Regions from separate parts of the Homo sapiens genome. Here all the other regions are linked to region 2. Evidence: promoter capture Hi-C in 16 types of primary human blood cells and fetal thymus (Javierre and others, 2016). All regions are on one chromosome and are shown on one strand. Each heading gives the region's core, a stretch centred on a gene start or on the middle of the fragment in contact. The rest is flanking DNA. Distances are from core to core; before and after follow the strand shown.

Evidence for each region. The method cuts DNA at HindIII sites, captures the fragments that hold promoters and counts their contacts. A CHiCAGO score of 5 or more calls a contact.
Region 1: a contact is called between a fragment that was not itself captured here and the fragment with the promoter of CCDC70 in region 2, in 2 of 17 cell types (fetal thymus and naive CD8 T cells). The highest score is 6.1, in fetal thymus.
Region 3: a contact is called between a fragment that was not itself captured here and the fragment with the promoter of CCDC70 in region 2, in 1 of 17 cell types (erythroblasts). The highest score is 6.1, in erythroblasts.
Region 4: a contact is called between a fragment that was not itself captured here and the fragment with the promoter of CCDC70 in region 2, in 2 of 17 cell types (erythroblasts and total B cells). The highest score is 6.0, in erythroblasts.

Annotation. Positions count from the first base shown.
Region 1 is chr13:51,327,744-51,330,443 of GRCh38, reverse strand. No RefSeq gene overlaps it. Among named protein-coding and RNA genes, the nearest start is that of SERPINE3, 11 kb to the left of the region's middle. RefSeq lists an enhancer at 1,326-1,825. The HindIII fragment of the contact is 620 bases long and covers 948-1,567 here.
Region 2 is chr13:51,860,673-51,863,372 of GRCh38, reverse strand. CCDC70 (coiled-coil domain containing 70) reads right to left here and starts at 1,404. Exons shown (of 2, transcript NM_031290.4): 1 at 1,144-1,404. It also overlaps a transcript of TMEM272 not described here. RefSeq lists an enhancer at 603-1,802. The HindIII fragment of the contact is 6,103 bases long and covers 1-2,700 here.
Region 3 is chr13:51,302,989-51,305,769 of GRCh38, reverse strand. No RefSeq gene overlaps it. Among named protein-coding and RNA genes, the nearest start is that of SERPINE3, 35 kb to the left of the region's middle. RefSeq lists a silencer at 2,283-2,577. The HindIII fragment of the contact is 3,312 bases long and covers 1-2,781 here.
Region 4 is chr13:51,272,219-51,275,095 of GRCh38, reverse strand. The region is part of intron 3 of FAM124A (family with sequence similarity 124 member A); the gene reads right to left. Among named protein-coding and RNA genes, the nearest start is that of FAM124A, 51 kb to the right of the region's middle. The HindIII fragment of the contact is 1,000 bases long and covers 1,097-2,096 here.

The DNA.
Region 1 (2,700 bases), core at 8-2,507, 530 kb after region 2:
TGGGATTGGCAATGCACATAGTAGTATAAATGGGTTTTTTATTCTGAAGAATTACACCTTTAGTCAAAGCTAGAGCCTGGATTTAGCATGCCAAGGAGTGGTATGCACACCTGTAGTTACAACTACTCAGGAGGCCTAGGCGGGAGGATCACCTGAGCCCAGGAGCTCGCTACTGCAGTGGGCTATGATTGTGCCACTGCACTCCAGTCTGCCACAGAACAAGACCCCATCTCTAAAAATAAAAAATAAAAAGGATTTTAAAAAGAATGTCAATGAGTGGGAACCATCAGACACAAAAACACCACCTAGTTTAAACAGGGTTCAGTTATTTATTTCCTTCAACAAGCTAAGGGGCACCTGTGAGCCAGCAAGAGGGGGCCGAGTGGGGAAGGCACGTGCCACCTGTCAGGGACTGGCCCATCTCCCCCTTGGCTTTGGCTGCCACTCACTCTCGGTTGATGCATCCAGTGGTCTCCACTGGCAGAGATCTTGGTCTCCATCTTCCCCAGGGCAGAGTCCCTTATGGGTGGCATGTGGTGAACTGCAGCCAGCTCAGGACACACCGGGAAGATGTAGGGGGTCATCAACACTCACACAGTCTGGCAGCGGGTCTCTGTGTTAACTGCAGAGCCTGGGAACTCTGGACTTGCCTCATAGTTTAATGGTTTGTGGTTGGATCTACCATATTGGTTGTACTCCAAAATTATCTAAGCCATTACATCATTGGCTGTATATGTGGTTTCCAAATTATATCACAACTTACCAATTTATGCCATAAATTTTCTGTACAGTCTAAAATATGTTTATGACTTTGGGGTAGAGCTGTTTATTACTTTTGAAGGAGGTAGCCTTATGTTTATTGGGAATGGGGTAAACATGTTTATAATTTTAACTACTTTTGAGAAAAACATGTTTATAAGCAAAGGAATGTTTTTGGTGGAAAAGCTTGTTTACCAGTTTTAAGCACAGCAAACAGGTTTTTATTTATGCCTGTTAAAATGCAGGATGAGATATCCTTTACAAAAATTCACTTTGCATATCACAGACTAGACAGTGAATTACCCTTGGTACCTATTGTTTGTTTCAATGTGTATTGAGATTAGTTTGTATTTTCCGATACACTGGGCTTGTCATCCTAGAAGCAGGGCAGAGCTGCTTTCATTTGGGAACTTTCCATTGAAAAAATGTTATAGAAAATACTCAGAATAATAATGGAGCTCTGACTGTACTGACTGTTGGTGGCTTAGGGTTTGAATTTTCCGGACATTCTACTCCATGAGGATAGGGGGAGATTTTTCTTGTTCATAGCTCTGTTCCCAATTCTGAGAATAGAGTCTGGCATATGGAAGGTGGTTAATACATAGTTATTGAACAAATGAATGAATCAATCAAAGAAAGGGACAGTAGCCTTTTTAACAGACACTTTGTCATCCCACTCTCCATGCCAAGGAGTTTACAGTATCACATAGATCTTAGTTTTTACTCAAAACCTTTTTCCCTATGAGATAAGAAAACAGCAGATATTGAACCATTATATAAATAAGAAAAAATAAAGACTTAGGAAGCTTTGCCCTGGGTGGATTCATGGTAAAGTGGGGACTCGTGGTTCCTTATCCCAAGCTCAAGGCGACTGGCCCAGCAGCCAGGTGGGGCAGCTGTGAGATGCTTGCCTGCCTGCCTGCCAGAGGCAGCCTCCTGTCCCACGCTAGCCTTGGGGCTCTGCGTCCTGCCAATCACACTGGGGAAGGTGCCTCCCTCCTGCATCTCTCAGGCCTGGGGTTTATCCAGATTCCACACAATGGGAGGGGCTTGTGGGGATTAGAGGACTAATGCCTGGTTTCTAAACTCAGGAGTTAACTGGGAGCCCAGGGTCATGGATAAATGCCAGAGAATGCTGGGCTTCTTTTTCAGAGAGACGCAGGTGTGAGCTGCAGTGCCACTAAGGCGGCAGGACCTAAGGCCCTGTGAGCAGGGGGTTTGCTCTGGGGCCCCGCAAGTCAAGTCAGTGAGCAGGATCCCCATCATGTCCCACAACTTAATCCCGACCCTGCCACATTGCTCCGTGCTGAATTGCCTGGGCCCAGTCATTTTAATGTCTTTGGGCCTCAGTTTCCTAATCTGTAAACCAGAAATAATAAGTGTGCCTCAAGTTTGTGTTTAAGTCAAATAATGAATATGAAAGTACTTTGTAAATCCTGAAGTTCTTTAAACATATACTATCATGCATCACTTTAACAACAAGGATAGGTTCTGAGAAATGCACTGTTAGGCAATTTCATCATTGTGCAAACTTCACAAAGTGCACTTACACAAACCTAGATGTTAGAGCCTACTCTACACCCAGGCTAGATGGTATAGCCTATTGCTCCTAGGCTACAAACCTGAATAGCATGCTACTATACCGAATGCTGTACACAATTGTAACCTAACGGGAAGTAGTTGTGTACCTCAACAAATCTAAACATAGAAAAGGCATAGTAAAAATACAGTATAAAAGACTTTAAAATGGCGCACCTGTATAGGGCACTTACCATGCATGGAGCTTGCAGGGCTGGAAGTTACTCTGGGTGAGTCAGTGAGTGAGTGGTGAATGAATGTGATGGCCTAAGACATTACTGTACACTACTGTAGACTTTATAAACACTGTACCCATAGGCTACACTACATTTAGAAAATATTTTTCTATCTTCAATAATAAAT
Region 2 (2,700 bases), core at 155-2,654:
TACAGGTGTTTTCTAGAACACTCTCTCGTCCTATCACATCAGTTCACACACCTTCAAAGACCCTGTAGCCCAAAGATCAAAGCTGAACGCCCTAGGAAGGCCTTGTGCAGCCCAACTCCAGCTTGCTTCTCCCTCTCCTTCCTACCCAGCCTGCACCCAACTCCAAATCTAAGGCCCAGTATTAACGGGCTCTATTCAGCTCTTGGCACTCTGCCTGCAGTTTCCTGCCTGTGTGGTGAAGCACATGTCGCATCCTCTACTGAGAGCCCCTTTTGTTCCTGTGGTGGGCTTGAATTCCTGTACATCCTTTCCCCTCTGAAAGCTACTCGGACCCTCCAGACAAAGTTCCTCGCCACCTCTGCGATACTGTCTGTCTGTTACTCCACTATTACTTGTCACACTTGATTGAAATTAGGTGTGGACATGTCTTCCTGACATCTCTGTAACCCAGCAGCTATCATAATATAACGCCGCCTATATAGGAGGGAATTGGTGAAAATGTTGGTTGAATTGAACTGAATTGAACTGCATTTTGGAAATTTGATTTTCTATGTTGTATGGCTCTTTGCCTAGAATCCCTCCAATATGTGAAGTCCTCCCTCACTTCCATGTCATGCTGGCCCCCTCTCCCTGGATATCCTTGCCCAACCTCACTTCAGTTCACCTAGCGAATCCTTCAGCACTCAGATACCTCCTCCAGGCCATCTCTCCTAAGCTCAGACTGAGCATGTGCCCTTCCTGTCCCACTAGAAACACCTCATCTTCCATCTCTATGTCTGGCATCCAGCGAAATGTTCTGCCACAGGATAGGTGTTCAGGAAATAGTAGCTGGATGAATGGGCGTCTACTGGGTTAGGATGTTGGAAAACATTCACCTCCAAGTTTTTCTCAAGTGAACACTAAACTTTCTTTAAGAAAGAAAGAAAATAAGAACCATATCAAATAGGTAGATGTGTATTAAAATATAAAGTACAATATAAAACTGTAGATGTGTATCTGTATAGCTGTAAAAACATGCACTAAAGATACATGCCCAGTTTTCAGTTATACTGTAAGACTAGGAGCTTCTTTTTAAGGAAAATATTATATATTACCTTATGCTTAGAACAAATACTATACAGTCTAAAGCCAACAGTTACTTACTGCTTAGCTGCTTCCCACTGGGGTAAGTCCTGTAGCCCTCAGAGGGGGCAGGCGGCCATTGTCATGTCAGATCCCCAGTGATGCGTGCTTGCAGGCTTGCCCCAACAATGCTGGCAGTGACCTGTCTGTGCCCTTTCAGTCCTGACTCACAGGATGGAGATGGCCAAGAAGGGGACCCCTATAAAAGACTTTAAGGAAAGGAGGGGGCACTTGAAAGGTTTGAAAGAGTTCCTCTTCAATCTTTGACTTCACTGATAGGGCAGTGCTGTTGATGACTCACAAGTGATTGTTACCTTAGATTCTGTCAGCATTGGTTCCGGGAGCATGGTTCTAGGAAGTCATGTTCTGGTGGGGGCTTTGTGTGGGATGAATCACTTCTCTTGCTGCTTTCCAGATTCTTCGTCTTTGGCTTTTGATAGTTTGACTATGATGTGTCTTGGTCTTGAGGTTTATTCTACTTGGAGATTGTTGAGCTTCTTGGATATGCAGATTTGATGCCGTTTTTCATCAAATTTCAGAAGTTTTTGGCCATTATTTCTTCAAATATTCTTTCATCCATTTTCTCTGTCTCCTCTCCTTCTAGGGCTCATATTATGTGAATACTAGTAGCGTGAGTGTGTCCCCCAGGTCTCTAAAGTTACGTTCATTTTTCTTCATTCTTTTTTCTTTCTGTTGCTTAGATTAGATAATCTCAATTAACCTGTTTACAAGTTCATGGATTTTTTTCTTCTGTCAGTTCAAATATGCTGTTGAATCCCTCTTTAATTTTTCATTTTCAACTCCAGAATTTTTGTCATGTAGTAAAATTTTTAAATAGTCAAGTAAATTAACATATCCATCATCTCATATAGTTACCCTTTTTTGTGCACTGTAGCAAGAGCACCCACAATCTACTCTCTTAGCAAAAATCTTTAATACAGTGTTATTAACTACAGTCCTCATGTTGTACCTTAGATCTCTAAATTATTTATCCTATATATCTGCAACTTTGTACCCTTTGATTTCCCTCTTCCCGTCCACTCCCCACACGTAGCAGCTGCCATTTTATTCTTTGTCTGTGTATTTGACTTTTTTCTTACTTCTTCTTTTTAATTTTTTTAATATTCTACATATAAGTGAAGTTGTGCAGCATTTTTCTTTCTGTGTCTGGCTTATTTCACTTAGCATAATATTCTCCAGTTTCATCTATCTTGTGACAAACGGCAGGATTCTCTGTTTATGACTGAATAATATTCCACTTTATATACATGCTGCAATTTCTTTATCCATTCATCTGTCAGTGGACCCCTAGTCCATCCAGAATTTCTCCAGAAATTTTCACTGTGTCTCCAGAATTTGTTTGGTTATATATAGAAAAGGATATATGTGCTTTTCTATATACATATATATACACACACACACACACACACACTTCTATATATATATTTTTTCTATATATCTATATAAAAGTATATGTATACAAAGTGTGTGTGTGTGTATATATATATATACACACACACATATATATATGTATGCACACATACTTTTCTGTCTCTTTTTGGTAAGGCATAGTTTTTA
Region 3 (2,781 bases), core at 42-2,541, 560 kb after region 2:
AGTATTTCCTCATTAAGCTGGCCTAGGGCTGAGCAGAGACAGCGAGTCATTACATTATCTTAAAGAAGTATACATCCCTTCCCTTAAGAGTTTATATCAATAATAAACATTGACAAAATACACAGCCTTGCTGTGTATCTGATTAAGTGTTTAAGGCATCTGATTTGAAGTGAATCTTCACTCGCCAGTTTTGGCATGTCACATCTTCCAAGCACATGAAACTTACGATGCCTGTGCTTCCTATGGCCACAGATCCATAAGAATGTCTTTGAAGCATTACTCCCTGCCCCGTCGCTTGCCTCCCCACCCAGTGGGTAAGAAGCACACACATTGCTCAGGGAGAGGGACGTTATCACAGGGGAGCAGAGGAAAAAAAAATGGCTGAATGATGGCCAAGAAAAAGCCCCCAGCATCAATATTGGTGAAGATCATTTGGAAGATCATTCTGTGGAAATGATCTTCCATAGAAGACCTTTTAATTATTACTTTCCAGTAGTTTTCTTTTCTTTTAAATAAAGGCAGAATGCAATAACAGGTCAAATAATTGCACAATCGCTAATGAGCTAAGGTGACACTGGCTGAATCAAAGGGTGGTGGCTTGGAACTGCTGGCATCAGCAGTCCCACTATCATGTAATTGCTCAGTCTGGAAATGTCTTTGGCCTTCTTATTGTCCTCCTGTTACAGGAAAGGGGTCTTGATCCAGACCCCAAGAGAGGGTTCTTAGATCTCACGCAAGAAATAATTCAGGGCGGGTCCACAGAGTCAAGTGAAAGCAAGTTTTTTAAGAAAGTAAAAGAATAAAGAATGGCTCCTTCATAGGCAGAGCAGACCTGAGGCCTGCTGATTTGCCATTTTTATGGTTATTTCTTGGTGATATGTTAAACAAGGGGTGGATTATTCATGCCTCCCCTTTTTAGACCATATAGGGTAACTTCCGGATGTTGCCATGGCATTTGTAAACTGTCATGGTGCTGGTGGGGGTGTAGTAGTGAGGATGACCAGAGGTCACTCTTGTGCCCATCTTGGTCTTGGTGGGTTTTAGCTGGATTCTTTACTGCAACCTGTTTTATCAGCAAGGTATTTATGACCTGTATTTTGTGCCATCCTCCTGTCTCATCCTGTGACTTAGAATGCCTTAACCATCTGGGAATGCAGCCCAGTAGGTTTCAGCCTCATTTTACCCAGCTCCTCTTCAAGATGGAGTTGCTCTGGCTCACATGCCTCTGACACTCCCTGCCCCAACACCAGAAGAGCAGGCCCAGGGAAGGGCAAGGGAGGCCATGTCCCTCCATGCCCTCCACACAGTGCTCTTCTGGTGTTATTAGCTGGCAGGAGCTCATTGTGCCCATCTCGTCCTTCCCAACTCTGTGTTGAATGACATCACCTTTGGAAACCCACCATATGGGGAAGATTTAACCACAAGAATCAGCAAAATATACCAATTGGTGCTTTTTCCACTTGCCATCCCTAAGTTGAGATGGGTGGTGGGGAATCATGTGAGTCAAATAGGATTGAGATTTAAAAATGGACAAGACTAAGACTTAATCTCTCTCTCTCTCTCTCTTTTTTTTTTTTTTTTTTTTGAGATAGGGTCTCACTGCACTGCCCAGGCTGGAGTGCAGTTATACAATCACAGCTCCCTGCAGCCTCAACCTCCTGATCTCAAGTGATCCTCCTGTCTCAGCCTCCTGAGTAGCTGGGACTACAGGCACATACCACCACACCCAATTAATTCTTTTTATTTTTAGTATTCTTTTTGTAGAGACACAGGGTCTTGCTATGTTGCCCAGGCTGGTTGTGAATTCTTGGGCTCAAGTGGTCCTCCCACCTTGGCCTCCTAAATTGTTGAGATTACAGGAATGAGCCACTGTGCCCAGCCAGTTATTTACTATCTAAATAACAGAAAATTATTGAAAAGCTATTAAATGGGGCTGAAGTGTTCTTAAGGAAGCCTGGTACCCAGCAGAAAAGTTGAATGTGGCAAAGCATAATGGTATACTGGGAAAATAATCTGTTTCATGTCTATCTTTCCTAAATCAAACCTCCTCAATCAAACTGCATACCTCTATGAAACTAAAGAGGTTGAAAAGGGCCCTTTTTAATCAAGAGCTGCTGCTGCTGAACACACTATGAAGTATTGGGGGTCCCAAAGAATTGTTTCCCAACATGATCCTTGAGCCCTTTCTCACCTTTGGATTTGAGCCACTGTGACCTCTTGACCACAGAGCAGCTGCTGATGGGTTAAAGGCCTTGTCTGTCTCCTGCCTCCCCAGGCTCCTGAGGGTCCTCCAAATGGCCTGGCAGGGAGGGCAGATTAACACATGGTGGCTGACAGCTCTTAACACTCTGGAGGTGTAGGGGGACCCAAGGGCTTCTGCTTCGGCAGAGCTGGTGCTGGCTTTGGAAGCAGATTCTGTAGAAGTGGCAGGAGCCCCCTCCCTCTGGTACTTAGGCCATTTCTAAGGATGAGCAGCTGTGCAGAGAATTAGTTCTTTTGCAGAACAAAATCCTTCAAGGAGACTAATTGTTTTTATAATAGGACTTTCACAGGAAGGAGAAAAAAAAAAACCTCTCTCATAAAAGCAAATGGATTCCCTGCTCGGAATGCACATCTTCTGCCCAGCAGGTACTGAAATGCAGATGGTGCTTTTACATTCCCAACTGGGGATTTAATGAGGAAGGAAGGGGTCTAGCTCTCAAACACTGGCAACGCATTTTCCCTTTTCTTTGAGATTCACTTGGGGAAGGGGGATGTCTACTTTAAATGAAAGACAAAATA
Region 4 (2,877 bases), core at 347-2,846, 590 kb after region 2:
TGGCCCCTTGCTCTATTTTAAAAACTTTTTGCTACTGCATCCAGTAGCCATTGTGAACCAGGATTCCTGAGTACTGTGGATGACCACAGGGAGGACAGAAAATAAGCCACTCTTGATTAAGCCACGATTCTTTAGGTCCCTATCATTCTCAGTTGTACTTGAGCTTACAAATTACTCCAACAAATAGGAGATATTGATATATTTAGAGGAACTGGGTTAATTGTTAAATCTTCACTTAGTTCTGTGAGGCTTTTAGAAATTGGGTTGCTTGACATCTGATCCTGCAATTATGTGTTTAAACAAATGTTCAGTTTTGTACATAGCAAGCACTCAATATATTCCTGAATGAATAAATACAAAAATACATGTGAGATACAAATACATATCTTCTAAAATAACTTAAGGTAATTTTAAGGTACTTATATGTGTGTAAGTTATGATATATGCCTATATATCATAAATCATAAATACCAATAAATATTATTTGATTTTAACAGAAAAAAGTTATGAGGACTCTGATATTTTTGGGAAAAGCAGTAGCAACATCTAATGATAAAGAGCAACTTTTCAAATAAAAAAATATCTGAGTAGTTGCCTCAGGGACCAGCTTTGTTTAATACAGGTTGAGTATTCCTAATCCCAAATCTGAAATCCAAAATGCTTCAAAATCTGAAACCTTTTGAGTGCTGACATGATGCTCAAAGGAATGCTCACTGAAGCATTTTGGATTGTGGATTTCCAATGCTCAAGTGATAAGTATAATGCAAATATTCCAAAATCCAAAAAAATCTGAAATCTTAATCACTTCTGATCCCAAGCATTTCAGAGAAGGGATAGTCAACCTGTATCAGTAGTGACTCTTGTGAAAATGTGGCAAGGATCCTAGGAGATACTATTAATAAACAGAAAAGGGCTGGGCACCTAGAAGTTCTAGGAAACAACATGGATATTGATCTGATGTATATTAAAAAGCTATTCACTTAAGGAGGAACAACAGAGAAAATCAAAGTGACAGCTGAGGACCCGGAGCTAGCGCCAACAAATCTAATGATAGAATCTGTAAAACTTGAAAGAATATCATGCCCAGGTGCAAGCTTTCTCTTTGTATAAGTTCTGCATCTTTCCCCGAATATTTATTTTTGGTGTAATTTGTGAATTACCCTGCCCATTGGCTGTAAAACACAGGAGTAGACAGAACTGATTTTTATATTAACAAAGGATCATCAGAGTTTCATTAAGTATCATTGATTTTAAGAAATTTCCAAAGAGAAATATCCCGTGACATAGTTCAATGACCAGGAGGAGCTGACAGAAACAATTAACAATAACTTAGGTTAAAAATCTCATTCTTACTTTATTTGAACAACAAGAGATAGAGTATTTTGTTTTTGAATTATCCAGATAATTTCTTCAATTCTCCAATGTAATTTTCTATTGCACTGAGGGTATAATGCTAGCTTGTGGGACTGAACTTTAGCTAATTACTGCATTCTAGCCTGAAGGATTCAAGTTAAAAAAAAATTAAGCCAACGCAATGTTACACGCCTGTAGTCCCAGCTACTCAGGAGGCTGAGGTGGAAGGATCGCTTAAGCTCAGGAGTTTGAGACCGGCCTGGGCAACATAGCAAGCCCCTGTCTCATTAAAAGAAAAAGTACATGCATGCATATCTATCTGCGAGCCTGACTGGAATCTTGGAGATTCAGTTTAATCTCAGTTTTCTCTAGCTCAGCACAATTGACATTTTCGGCTAGATAGCTCCTTGTTGGGAGAGCTGTCCTGTGAGGATGTTTAACCGCATCCCTGACCTCTATCCACTAGATACCAATAGCACCCTGGCTACCTCCCCGTTGTGACAACCAAAAATGCCTCAGGACATTGCCAAATGTCCCCTGGTGGAGGAGAGATGCCAAGTGCCCCCAGGTGAGAGTTGCTGCTAAACTTTTGTATTATGAAAATATAATGCCCTTGCATAAACCTGGGGGTCTAAGTTCTGCGGGAATGCCTCCCTATCATTTTTTGAATTAAATTTTTATTTTTATAAACTGATATGTAAACAGAGTTTTAAAAACAAAGTACACATTAGTTCTACAAAGCTTATAATGGGGGAAAAAAAGAGGTTTTACCCTTATCCAAGTGTCATTTCTTAGAGCAGTGCTGTCTATAGAACTCTGTGCAATGATGTAAATGTTCAATATCTGTGCTGTCTGATTTGGCAGCCACTAGCCTCCCAGTTCTCCCGAGAGGGGACTCCCTCAGCCTCCTGCCTGGGCAGGTGTTAGGAACCTGGCAGTCCCAGAAGTGTAACACAGATTGCACTTCTTCCTCCTGGGCCCAGTATGGCACTCCCACCTTGACTGTGCTTGGCGTCCTGCGGTCTAGCACTCCTACCTTGACTGTGCTTGGTGTCCTGTGGTCTAGGTCCCTGGTCCATCTTTCCAGAGAGTAAGCTTTGGCCTTCTGATGGGAAGGGGAAGAGGTAGCTGATCTGGTGGTTCAACTGGTGTGTGTGTGTGTGTGTGTGTGTGTGTATAAGGCTTTATTTACAAAAATAGGTGGCAGGCCAGATTTGGCCTGTGGTCTTTAATTTGTCGACTCCTGTCAATTGCTTTCTGTACAAACTTCTAAACCAATTTTTCCACTCTCTCATCTAGGCATAGACACTGTTTCCCATTTAGCCCGGCCATCTCCCTCCTGCTCCTTTCTTAGGGCCCAGGCCTGCAGCATCAAGTCTTGGCCATTCAGTGTCTCAGAATGATAAAGACAAGAGACAATCAGTGCGGGCAGGAGGGGAGTGTGGTTTGGGGACTCTTGATTTGGTAGGGAGCAGAGGGGAGGTGTGCCCCCAAAGCCAACCTACTGACCTCCTGTGCCCCCAA